Linked DNA regions of Homo sapiens: region 2 is linked to region 1. The links are contacts of gene promoters, found by promoter capture Hi-C in human tissues and cell types (Jung and others, 2019). All regions are on one chromosome and are shown on one strand. Each heading gives the region's core, a stretch centred on a gene start or on the middle of the fragment in contact. The rest is flanking DNA. Distances are from core to core; before and after follow the strand shown.

The links. The method cuts DNA at HindIII sites, captures the fragments that hold promoters and counts their contacts. A contact is called where the count stands out against the background at its distance.
Region 2: a fragment that was not itself captured here is called in contact with the fragment with the promoter of PKD2 in region 1 in 1 of the 25 tissues and cell types used here (hippocampus).

Annotation. Positions count from the first base shown.
Region 1 is chr4:88,003,170-88,009,595 of GRCh38, reverse strand. PKD2 (polycystin 2, transient receptor potential cation channel) reads right to left here and starts at 1,961. Exons shown (of 15, transcript NM_000297.4): 1 at 1,268-1,961. The coding sequence starts at 1,862. RefSeq lists silencers at 1,079-1,218, 1,269-2,198. The HindIII fragment of the contact is 15,667 bases long and covers 1-6,426 here.
Region 2 is chr4:86,942,804-86,948,854 of GRCh38, reverse strand. It overlaps AFF1 (ALF transcription elongation factor 1), which reads right to left. Exons shown (of 21, transcript NM_001166693.3): 2 at 284-357. The coding sequence starts at 321. Among named protein-coding and RNA genes, the nearest start is that of AFF1, 11 kb to the right of the region's middle. The HindIII fragment of the contact is 7,842 bases long and covers 1-5,337 here.

The DNA.
Region 1 (6,426 bases), core at 712-3,211:
ATAACATGACAAATACATGCTGCACATTTTATGTCTTAACTCACTTAATTCTCCCAAAGAGTCAAGTCCTAAGCGTTATGATCATCTCTTTAAAAAAAAAAAAAATCCAAAAATTGGGTATCAGAGAGGATAAGTAACTTGCTCAAGGTCGTACAGCTAATGAGTGGTGGAACTGGGATTTCAGTGTAGGCCTGACCTGGTTTTAATCACACTGCTGTAACAACACCTGGATTGTTTTTGTGCAAGACTTTCAAAACTGACAGAAGGAGAAGAACAAGAAAAACTCAACTGAGAATGGAAACTCTTAAAAATATAGATTAAAATAATTTGGAGGGTAAAAGCAAATGAAATACTTTCCCAAGGATACCTCTGACAAAATTTGTAAAAAGAGAATTTCCTCTGGTACTAGAAAATTCATGTCCTCTTACTGGGCACTGGCAAATTTGAAAATTCCTCTTCTGCCTTTTGTAGAGCTGGGCGCACTGGGCTCAGACACATTTATCAGCTGCTATCTGGTGACTTCATCATTTTGGTGGAATTTCAAAGAACATTAATTTAGTTATTTAAAAACATACTTCAAATTTTTTTAAAACAATGTAATCTTTCCTTTGCAACTGTTTTTAGAAAAATGTCTAGAATTAGAAACGGCCAAATAACTTCACGATATTATTTTATTCTATTTGTGGTGTTCTTAACAGCTCCCACTCCTCAAAACAACCACACACATCACCAAAAAAATGCACCAATGACAATCTGCCACACTCCTCCCACAACTTGACATTATATGCACTGTACTGCTACCCTTTTCAGCCCGGGACAATGGAGTGTCCAGGCAAGAAGGAAACCACGGGTGACTATAACATTTTCCTTTAGATTTTGTGACATTGGCAAATATGCAGTTGCAACTACCATCAGTTACACAAGTAATGTTCATTTTTTCCTCTACAAGAAAAAAAAAAACAAAACCCAGATGTACTCTTTCACTCTAATTAGGCTTTCACTAATTTTCAGTAAAAAAGACTATGGTGACATATCCTGAAGAAGGAGGTATCCAATAAATATGCACCAACAAAAGAGCAGTGGAATTCCGCGCTGGGTACCGGAAATAGGGCAGCACTAGCGGAGGTGGGGAATGCGCTTCCAAGGGAGGCGGAACGCAGAGGGGATGCGAGATGGAGCCCGGGGAGCTGCCGCAGCGGGCGATGGCCCCGGCCGGCGCCGGCCGTTCTGGTTCGTGCATCTGCCGCTGCGGGTCGCGCGCTCTTACCTCGCAGCCCGCGAACCAGCCTCTCCGCCCAGGCCACTCGGGGCGGCTGCCCTTCCAGGGGGAGGTGGCGATGCAGCGGGTCCCCGCCGCCGACTGGGCTGGGGCACGGCGGGCCCTGGTCCTCTCGCCGGCGCCGCCTCCCGCTCGGGTGGCCCGCGCCGTGGTAGCCCCCAAGCCCCCGGCTCCGCGCGCCCACGGAGCTCACGGCCGAGGAGGCGGCCGACCTCCGGCTGCCCGGGCGCCACTCTACGTCCATCTCCACCACCATTCCGCCTTCTTCCCCTTCCACCTCCTCCTCCTCCTCCTCGGCCTCGAAGCCGGGGTTATCGCGGCTCCACGCCTGCCGGGAGCACGACGAGAGCGGAGGAGAAGGGGAGGCCGCGGCTCCGGCCGGGGGGTCCCGCGCGGCCGCCTGCCGGATGCGCTGCATCTCGATCTCCAGGCCCCGCTGCTCGCAGAGGCCGCCCGGGGCGGCGAGGCTGGCGCCCACGGCCGCGCAGCCAGCCATCAGCCGGCCCGGGTCCGGCGCGCGGGGCGCGGGCGGCCGCTTGGCGTCCCCGGGCTGCTGAGGCTGCACGCGACTGGAGTTCACCATCGCGGTCACTGGCGTCCGGCGCGCGGGTGCGCGGCGCCGCGCTCGGCGCTGTGCGCCTCAGGAGCCATGTTCCTTTCTTCCCGGCGCCCGCCGCCGCCTGCTCCCCGCCCCCGACCTCCCCGCGGTCCCGCGTCCTCTCGCCCGCCCCTTTGGCCCGCCTCCCTCTGGCCTCGCCCCGCCTCGCCCATCCGCCGCGGCGCGCTGAGCGGGGAGGTGCGAGGGAGCCGCCCCCGCGGTCTGCGCGCTCGCCCGGCGGCTCCCGAGTCCGCGTTCCAAGTGGAACCGGAGCCCGGGCGCGGGCGCCCACGTTCCATTCCCGGGAAGGCCTGGGAAGGGAGGGAATCGCTCACCCGCCAGCCCGCCTGCAGGGAAAGGGCTCCTGGAGCTGTCGATGCCTGCCCGACGCTGAGATAACTCTTGGGTCCCAGTTATCCACCAGCCACTTCTGCCTCGATTCACCAAAGGGCAGGGAAAGAACCTTTTGGTGAGATGGTGTGAATTAGCGACATCCAGCCTGAGCTGAAGTCTCCAGCGGGTCAAAGAAATCTTTCCATTTGCAAACTACCAAGGCTGACTTGCTGTGCATTTGGCGGGCCTCCTGCCCCTGATTCTGCTGGTTTGGAGATGCTTTCTCGCTCTTTGGTTGGCTTCTGTCTCCACACATTGTGGGGATCCCAGGGATTCGTCATAGGACTCTCGGATCGCTGGTGCCTCCACTGTGATCTCCGGTCTCCCTGCGGCCAGCACTGACTTCTAGCAACAGAATCCTGCATGAGGGCCTAGGCACAGAACTTTATTTCCACTCTTCTGAACACATCTAATGTGATGCTCTGCAATTGTCTGAAATTTATCCTACCCTAAGTCATTATCTTGTCCCCTTCTCTGGAACCTGCTTCACTTCCCGTATCCCAAGGTGAGGTTTGGGGCTTCGCTGTCCTCCTCACTTCCCAGGCCACTCTTCTTCATGGAAGCCTCGCGGTTTACCCTCCACCGCCTACACCTTATCTTCTTGTTACTTTTGCCCCACAGATATCACCCTGATATGATCTCTGTTTCTCACTCCTGCTGGCTTGATCTTATGTCTTGCATTATTCCGCATTAGAACAATTGATCCCTGTCAACTCCCATCTCTATTCTCCACGTCGGTGTCCTCACTATTTCCAGGTTATATTGCAGAACCAAAGCTGCTTATTTGTCACGTTGATGCTTAGACACCTCTGTGGGCTTCTGGCAGCTGAAAGGATAAAATTTAATTTCTGTGGTTTGGTTTAGTAAATTCTCATAATCTGCTCCTGTATTTGTTTGTTAGGGCTGCCATAACAAAGTACCAGAGACTGGGTGGCTTAACAGAAATTTATTTGCTCACCTTGTCTCTACAAAAAATACAAAAATTAGCCAGGCTTTGCGGTGTGTGCCTTTGGTCCCAGCTATTAGGGACGCTGAGGTGGGAGGATCGCTTGAGCCCGGGAGGCAGAGGATGTAGTGAGCCAAGATCGGGCCACTGCACTCCAAGTGACAGAGTGAGACTCTGTCTCATAAAGAAAGAAAGAGAGAGAGAGAAGAAAGAAAAAAAGAAGGAAGGAAGGAAAAAGAAAAGAAAAATTGTATTTTCTCACGAGGTGTTGGCAGAGTTGGTTTCTTCTGAGGCCTCTCTCCTTGGCTTGCAGATGGCCCCGCTTTTGTGTCCTCACGCCGTCTTCCCTCTTCCCTCTGTATGCGTCTGTGTCCTAATTGTCTATTCTTATACATCATATTGGATTAGGGCCTACCCTCATGACCTTGTTTTCACTTCATTACTTCTGTAAAGACCCTGTCTCCAAGTATGGTCATGTTCTGAGGTAATGGGGGTTAGGACTTCAACACAGAAATTTTTGGGGGGACACAATTTAGCTTTAACAGCTCTTAATGTACTCCTCTAGCATGGCATCCCATGCCATCCATCCACCTTAATGAATTATTCATTTGTTCTCTAGGCACATATAACATGCTGCTAATATTTAGGTAATTATGGCTACCTATTACCTGATCCTGCAGTTTATTAATTTAGATATTCATGTTCTTCTCTTAACTGTGAGCTTCTCAAAGGCAAGACTGGTGGGTCTGGAGCACAGCCCTAGCTCATGCTATTCATCAGTTCATTCTGAAGACATTTCCTGTGCCCTGAATTAAGGTCTGGGCATGTAGAGAGGAGTATGATACAGCCTTGGCCCTCAAGAGGAGACAGACCAAAAATGAGAGATTACCAAGTGGGTTAAGGGTTATGGTGCCTGTCATCCAAGGAACTTCTGAAGCTGAAGATGTCCTGAATAGCACCAGCAGCACTGCAGAGTCGAAGGATTCTTACAGACACATTCCAACAGAGGAGAGCCAGGCCTGGAAAGAGAATGCAGAATCTGAGCCAAAGGGTCCTCTGGAGAATAGGCCTAGTACAATGTTTTCAAATTGTGATCAGAAGATCTCCAGCATCACTTGCAGCTCTTGCTAAAAATATAGATACTGGGTCCACATTCCAACCTTATTGACTCAAAATCTTCCGGATTCCAGTCCTGAAATTCTGAATCTTCACAGGGGATTCTCAGGCATCCAAAGTTTGAGAAGCACCAATGTGTTCCAAATGGAAGAGGTTTCATAAATATTTCCCCCACATTTCTATACTTCACTGTTAGCACTAGTGAGACAATCATCTGGAATCCCAGACTTAGAAGAAAATTCAGTGGTCTTTGAGTCAGGTTACTCTATGCTTGTGCCTGCAGTCACTAATTCGTTGTAAGGACCCTGGAGCCAGACTGCCTGGATTCTGATTTACTCACTACTTCCTAGCTGTGTGACCTTGGGAAAGTCACTTTATCTCCTTGTACCACCAAAGATGAGGATAATGATAATGCCTACCTCATAGGGTTGTTGTGAGGATTAGGTGAATTAATACATGTGTTTTAGTCCATTCGGGCTGCTATAAAAAATATCATGTAGTGGGTGGCTTATAAACGATGAACCTTTATTTCTTACAGTTCTGGAAGCTGGACGGTCCAAGATCATGCTGCCAGCAGATTTGTGGTCTGGTGAGGGTCTACTTTCTGGTTCATAGACTGCACCTCCTAGCTGTGTCTTATGGTAGAAGGGGCAAAAGAGCTCCCTTGAGCTGCTTCTCTAAGGGCACTAATCCCATTTGTGAGGGCTCCAGCCCCATGATGTAATCACCTCTCAGAGGCCCCAGCTCCTTATACCATCACTTTGAAGGTTAGGATTTCAATGTATGAATTATGGGGGGGGAACACAAACACCCAGACCATAGCATGTGGAACACCGTCTGACATGTACGTGCTAATAGTGTTAGAAGTAGTCTTTGCTCTTATATCTTAATTATGATAACTGTTTTCATCTATGATAATTGCTTTTGTGGATGTCTTTGTTAGTGTTAGAAGTGGTCTTAGCTCTTATATCTTAATTATGATAACTATTTTCATCTATTATAATTGCTTTTGTGGATGTCTTTGTTCCAGCTAGGCTGTGAGTTTCTGGAGGGCTCCATGCCAATCCTAGAGGCTTCTATAACAAATACTTACTAAACACCTACTATATGCCAGGCACAATACTAGGAGAGACGGCAATTCATTAAATAGGGGAAAAGCCTAGCTCTCATAGAGGTGAGCTTATATTTTACAGGGTTTGAGGGGATTTAGAAGAGAGATTGCCCAGGCTGGCATGGGTAGGGAAGGTAGGTAGGGCCAGATCATAGGAAGCCTCAGATGTGTGTTAAGGAGTACAGACTCTCTATAGTTAATGATAACATAAATAGGCCTTTTTTTTTTCTTTCTAGAGTGTCAGTTCCTATTTAAAACAAAATCTGAAATCTTCCTGAAACTATATCCTCACCCTTAAAAGAATTCAAATTGATTGGAAATGTGTCTGCACATACATAATTCAGAGTTATATGTGTGCTTACCCAAAATTTTCTTTACAAATTATTGCAAGAAATGTAATCATTAAAAATTCGCAGCAATTTTTGTGTAATACCACTTAAATAGCATTTGGTCCATTGCACCCTAAATCTTACATTTTGGAGTTTCAATATTAATTTCAATCTTAATTTTCATAAACCCAACACCAGCCATCTAATATATTTCCTGTTCAAATACTTATTCATTCCTTCTGGCTTACTAAGGTTCCCTTTTGTGCTTTTATGTTAATTTGTTTCTCCCCTTTAGAGTGCCCAGCTTTTGCTCAAGCAGGCCCTGAGGCTGTAAATTTCTCTCCCTACCCACGGAATTCCTTCCTTTAATACCCATCTGAAGACCTTACTTCTAATAAGAAATTTTCCATTATTAAATAAGTGACGTGCACAAAGTTTTTTTCATCTCATTTCCACAATCCTGTTGTCACATTACAAATTTCCATCATCTGTAGCATCTGGAAATACCGAGTGGGATAGATAACATGGCCTGGCTGCTGTTTGTTTTTTTTTTCATCAGTGTGCTAGATCTTCCTGGACACGCTGCACAAATCTCACCTCAGTCTTAGTGCCACCGTGGACGCTGGAAGGAGCCATTTTAAAAGGCAACCTTAA
Region 2 (6,051 bases), core at 167-2,666, 1.1 Mb after region 1:
TATCCTGAACACAGCATTAGAATGCTGATTTAATCATTTAAATTAACATCCACATTTTTAAAAAAAATGAGTTAACAGACTCAGCGATTGCTAGATTTAAAAGAAAATATGTAGCCAGTCCAACAAGTTTGACTTCATGTAGAGAAAACTGAAAATTTCAAACATTTTCTTGCACCCGTGAGTTCTTAAGTTGCAAAATTGAAAAAGACCAAACTTATTCATTGAAAAGTAGATTATAAAATTAAATATCAGCATGTCTTTGAATCATAGATTCTATGCTTACCTGTTGCCACTGCTGTTGACTCTTTCTGTAAATGCCATTGTTTCCAGTCAATGCAAAGTGGCTAGTCTGTTCATCTGAAAGAGAAACAAAGAGTAGCCTGTGAACATTAGCCTGTGAGTAAATTCAGGGATACGCATGACCTGTAAGAAGCTTTATTGGAGACAGAATTCCAAGTTCTCATTTGAATTAGAAAATGGTTCTCCAATTCCCAAGTTGTATGAACAAACTATCTAGTATATATCAAAGGCCAATTGCACTTTTAACTGTGAGGCTGCTTCTCAAAGCCATTTCAGCAAGAAAACAATGTGCACAAGTTTACCATAAGGAGGAGGGGGAGGAGAAAAGGAAATACCATTCCCCTGGTGCCTACTTTGTGCCAAGCATTGTGTTAAATATAAATAAGCCCTTTTAAAAATGGCATTTCATTAATACATTACAATAAAGTTGCAAGGCAGATACTAATATCCCATTTTATAGTTAAGAAAATGGAGACTCAAACACACACAAAAAAAAACAACCAAGAAATGTAGACTTAGTTTTAAGTAATTTGCCTAAGGTCACAGGTTGTGTCAGCATCCTCACTAGAATTAAAAGGAAGAAAAGGTAAGAGTGTCAACTATGCAAGAGAAAGGAAATCAACAGGTCATTCTCACATAAGAATGCAACACTTAAGAAAAGTGGGTCCCAGTGACAATCAATCTTAAGATTTTACTTCCACTCATTAAAGGTACTTAATCAAAACAAAAAAAAAACAAACAAAAACCGAAATAAAACAACTATTGGGCATTCTTTCAAAACAAGACTGAATTTGGGGGAAAAATTATTATCCAATCTGGGCAGATAGTCTTGGTACTATCTTGGGTAACTCTGGAAACAACCTCTCTTTATGGTTAACACTGTCTACAGCTGTTTCCTTTTCCCTCTCTAGTGAGTATTTATAAATTGACTACACTTATCCTAACTTGCATTAAATAGTTTGTTTTACTTTTCAAACATCCTTAAGGCAAAGAAAGGTATGTTACTAAATTATCTTAGTACAGACTGGACAAACCATTTGATACAAATGGAAACACACATTAAATTTGTAATCATTTTAACTTGCCTCTGTTTAAGAGGCTGTTACAACTTTGGCTGAGGTTGAAACACTGAATATAGTCCTTCACAGCTCTATTCTTACTCCCGATAAGGTCTTTTATCTCCCTCTCCATGAAATTTAAATTGCTGACTTGCTAACTACATGTTTCCATACTAGCAGACATAATTTGCCACTCTTTCTCCTCTCTCAAAAGATTGCAGCATGGATGTTAAAATATTCTAGTTAAACTCACACTAGCAGAGATCTACTTTTCAGGGTCAAACATGTGTCACTCTTCTGACCAGCAATAGTGGCCCCCTAGGCAAGTTTTCTCAATTCTCCAACTCAATCCCCACTAGTCTCCCTTCCCTTCCCTCACCACTTACTATCGCTCACTTTCTCCTTTTTCTCTTTCTCTGCATCGCTAGCTCTACCCCTGCCTTTGCTGCTCACACTTTCTCTCTCTTGACTTGCAGGGCTGGCACACAGTAAGTGATCAATAAAACACTATTGTATTCCTGTTGGCATTATTCTTCATAACACTTCTGTAGAGGCATCTGAAGAGTCCCTGATGGCAGTTCCCCACATTACCCTCCCAGTGAAGATGCTCAACCTGCTTGCAACCCAATAGCACCCACCCCTAGGGCTCTTTGGTGGAGAGTGATAACAGGAGAAAAGGAGACAGGTTGGGCTGTTGGGTGGCTATCAATCTGAGAGGGGTCCTGAGTTCACTTGTTTGTTGACTGACTGACAGAACCAACAAATGTATCCTGAGCATCTGCTGTAAGCCAGGTACTAAGAATAAAGAGAGTGGGCCGGGTGTGCACCTGTAATCCCAGCACTTTGGGAGGCCAGGGTTGGCTGAATGCTTGAGCTCAGGAGTTCAAGACCAGCCTGGGCAACATGACAAGACCCGTCTCTGCTAAATATAAAAATAAATAGCCAGGTGTGGAGGTGCATGCCTGTGTTCCCAGCTACTCTACTTAAGAGGCTGAGGTGGGAGGACTGCTTGAGTAGGGATGCAGGTGGGGGTGGGTGGGGGGTGGGGGTGATGTAGGTTGCAGTGAGCTGAAATTGCACCACTGCCCTCCAGCCTGGGTAACACAGCAAGGCCCTGCCTCAAAAAACATAAAAAATATAGTGAAGAAAAGACTCTTGCTACCATTGAGCTTACATACTACAGAAGGTAAGCAAAGACACATTCAGTAAAATATATAGATGTTAGAAAAGCAAAATGGGAGTGCAGAGAGGAATCAAGGTAGGGTATTGCGGTTCTACGTAGGGTGGTCAGAGAACACAACATTTGAGCAAAGACTTAAAGTGAGGAGCAAGCCATAGAGATCTGTAGTGGAAAAGGGTCCTCGGGACTGATAAGTAGAAAACTGAAGGAGTGAGCAACCCCCCAGGTCTCACCGCTCAGGAGCACTACAGATACATCATAATGAGATGCCTTAAAACATCAAAAAGAACCACATGGGTTAATCTAAGCAAGATCTAAATAAAATGTACAATGTGAGCCAATTTTTTGTTTAATGCTTTAAGTTTATGCATACACACAAAGTTTGGAATAGCATATACCAAACTGTTAATAGTAGCTTTCTGGAAAGGGAAGAGCTTTGGTGAAGAGGCCAGAGCAGGAGATTTAAAAGGGCATTTTCACCTTTTATTCTGTTATGCTATCAATCTTTCAATATAATCCTCCATGGGCCAAGCATGGTGGCTCATGCCTGTAATCCCAACACTTTGGGAGGCCAAGGTAGAAGGACTGCTTAAGTTCAAGATCAGCCCTGGAAACACAGTGACACCTTGTCTCTACAAAAATAGAAAAATTAGCTGGGCATGGTGGCACATGCCTGTAGTCCTAGCTACTGAGGAGGCTGAGGCAGGAGGATTGGTTGAGCCCAGGAAGGAGGAAGCTGCAGTGAACTGTGATCTGTGCCACTGCACTGCAGCCTGGGTAACAGAGACCCTGTCTAAAAAAAAAAAAAAAAAAAAAAAATTGGGAAAGGCTGGGCAAGGTGGCACATGTCTGTGGTCCCAGCTACTCAAAAGGCTAAGGTGAGAGGGTAGCTTGAACCCAGGAGGTGGAGGCTACAGTGAGCTGTGATCACACCACTGCACTTCAGCCTGTGTGAAAAAACAAGGCCCTGCCTCAAAAAAAAAAAAAAAAAAAAAAAGGAAAAGAAAATAAGGAAGATACTAACTTGGCTCTATTTAAAAACAGAGTAGTGCTGTACAGCAGAAAGCAGCTAGGCTCAAGTGAGCTGCATGATCACCTTGGACAAGTTAAGCTCTATCAGCCTCCATGCCCCTATGTGTAAAACAGAGACCTTCCTACCTTCCAGAGTAACTGAGAAGCATATATTATATCACCTAGCTAAAATACCTAGCACACTGACACATGGTAGCAGCTATATCCACACTAAATTTTATGTGAATGATGCAAACTTTATTTCATTTTGGAATGTTCCATGGCAGGAATGTACATTACTATCTAAGTGACCTTTCTATAGTCCTCCCTCTCTTGCTTACCAAATTTATTCAGAAATTAAAATGTCATGTGTATCAAACTGCTTTTCTTCCTCAAACAATTCATAATTCAAGAGTGTGTATACACATACATGTGAGTATATACACATATATGTAAGTTTTATGGACACTCACACCACATACATACATAAATAGAAAAAAAGGGAGAAGATGAATATAAAAAGTGACTCAAGATGTTTTCAAATATTCTGTTCACTTAGGTCATTAAGTGCTTCCAAACCTAGTACACTCTGGGGAACCTACTCTCAAGAGTCTTTACCACATGCTGGTAAAAGACCTGCTTTGCAACTAGCTATAAGACCTCGAGGCTGGGCGCCGCGGCTGTCTGTAATCCCAGCACTTTGGGAGGCCGAGGCGGGCAAATCACGAGGTCAGGAAATCAAGACGATCCTGGTTAACATGGTGAAACCCCATCTCTACTAAAAATACAAAAAAAATTAGCCAAGCGTGATGGCGCGTGCCTGAGGCAGGAGAATGGCGTGAACCTGGGAGATGGAGCTTGCAGTGAGCTGAGATCGCGCCACTGCACTCCAGCATGGGCGACAGAACAAGACTGTCCAAAAAAAAAAAAAACCTCCAGAAAATTATTCTTCTTAAGGCCTCAGCTTTCTCATCAGTAATACAGGGGCTTCATGGGATTGTCGTCGGGGACATAATGTTTGTAAAAGTTTTAGCACAATGACTGGCTCATGGTAAACATTCAATAAATGATAGTGGTTGTTCTAGTTATTTTTTTGGCTGGCCAAACCATGTGCTGGGGCAATTCCACACACTAGGGAAGACTTTTTTTTTTTTTTTTTTTTTTTACAGGGTCTTGCTCTGTCACCCAGGCTGGAGTGCAGTGGCACAGTCATGGCTCACTGCAACCTCAACCTTCTGGGCTCAAGTAAACCTCCCACCTCAGCCTTCAGAGTAACTGGGACTACAGATGTGTGCCACCATGCCTGGCTTATTTCATTTTATGTTATTATTGTTTTTTTTATTTTGGGTAGAGTTTCGTTCTTGTTGCCCAGGCTGGAGTGCAATGGCAGGATCCTGGCTCACCACAACCTCCGCTTCAGGGTTCAAGCGATTCTCCTGCCTCAGCCTCCCGAGTAGCTGGGATTACAGGCATGCACCACCACGCCTGGCTAATTTTTTTGTATTTTTAGTAGAGACGGGGTTTCTCCATGTTGGTCAGGCTGGTCTCAAACTCCCGACCTCAGGTGATCTGCCCACCTCAGCCTCCCAAAGTGCTGGGATTACAGGAATGAGCCACTGCACCCGGCTAATTTTTGTATTTTTTGTAGAGACAGGAGTTTGCCATGTTGCCCAGGCTGGTCCCGAAAATGCTGGTATCACAGGTGTGAGCGACTGAGCCCAGCCTGGGAACTTTTCAACTGGACAAACAGAGCAAGCAGCTCCCCAGTCCCCGGACCACAATCTAGTTTCCAAAGGAGAATATGAGAAAAATTACTCTGTTCAGAGGCCTGTAGGCTAGTTAGTCCCTCGTCAACTATACTTCTCCTTTACCCAGGAATAACAGTCTCTTGGTAACAGGCAATGTGTTAGGGATAAGTCATGGGACATACATTCTGTTTTAGTCTGATTCTCTAGAACTCTACCCCTAGTAGAGAGATCTACCCCTGGGAGAGATCATAATCTCCCAGGACCCCAAACTGACCTGATCATCTACAGTTCCTCTAGGCTCTCCAATGCACATGGACCTCACAAGCTCAGAAATCCATAAAGGAATACAATTTCCCCAACTATCTCTTCTACACTTTGAAGTTTTGTTCAACGGGGTTCTGGTGCTACGCTACACTCAAGTACACATCCCACATATTGTTGGCTCCCTCTGATCATTAGGTGCTCAGCTCCAATGACATTCTCAGAGAGGCCTCCACTGACTCTCAAAGCTAATGTGACAATGCTGTCCCTCAAGGACTCTCTCCAGCCAACCCACAACTCTCTACTCCATTATGCTTATTATATGGGTTAGGAATGTGTTTAGCTGTAAGTAATAACTGTTTAAATTAATAGAAGTTTATGTTTCTCCTACAGCAAGTCTAGAAGAGGGTGGCTACTTGGCATACTGTTAGCTATGCAATGAGGCATCAGGAACTCTGACTTTTTCTGCTTTGCCTATTTAGCATGTTGTCTT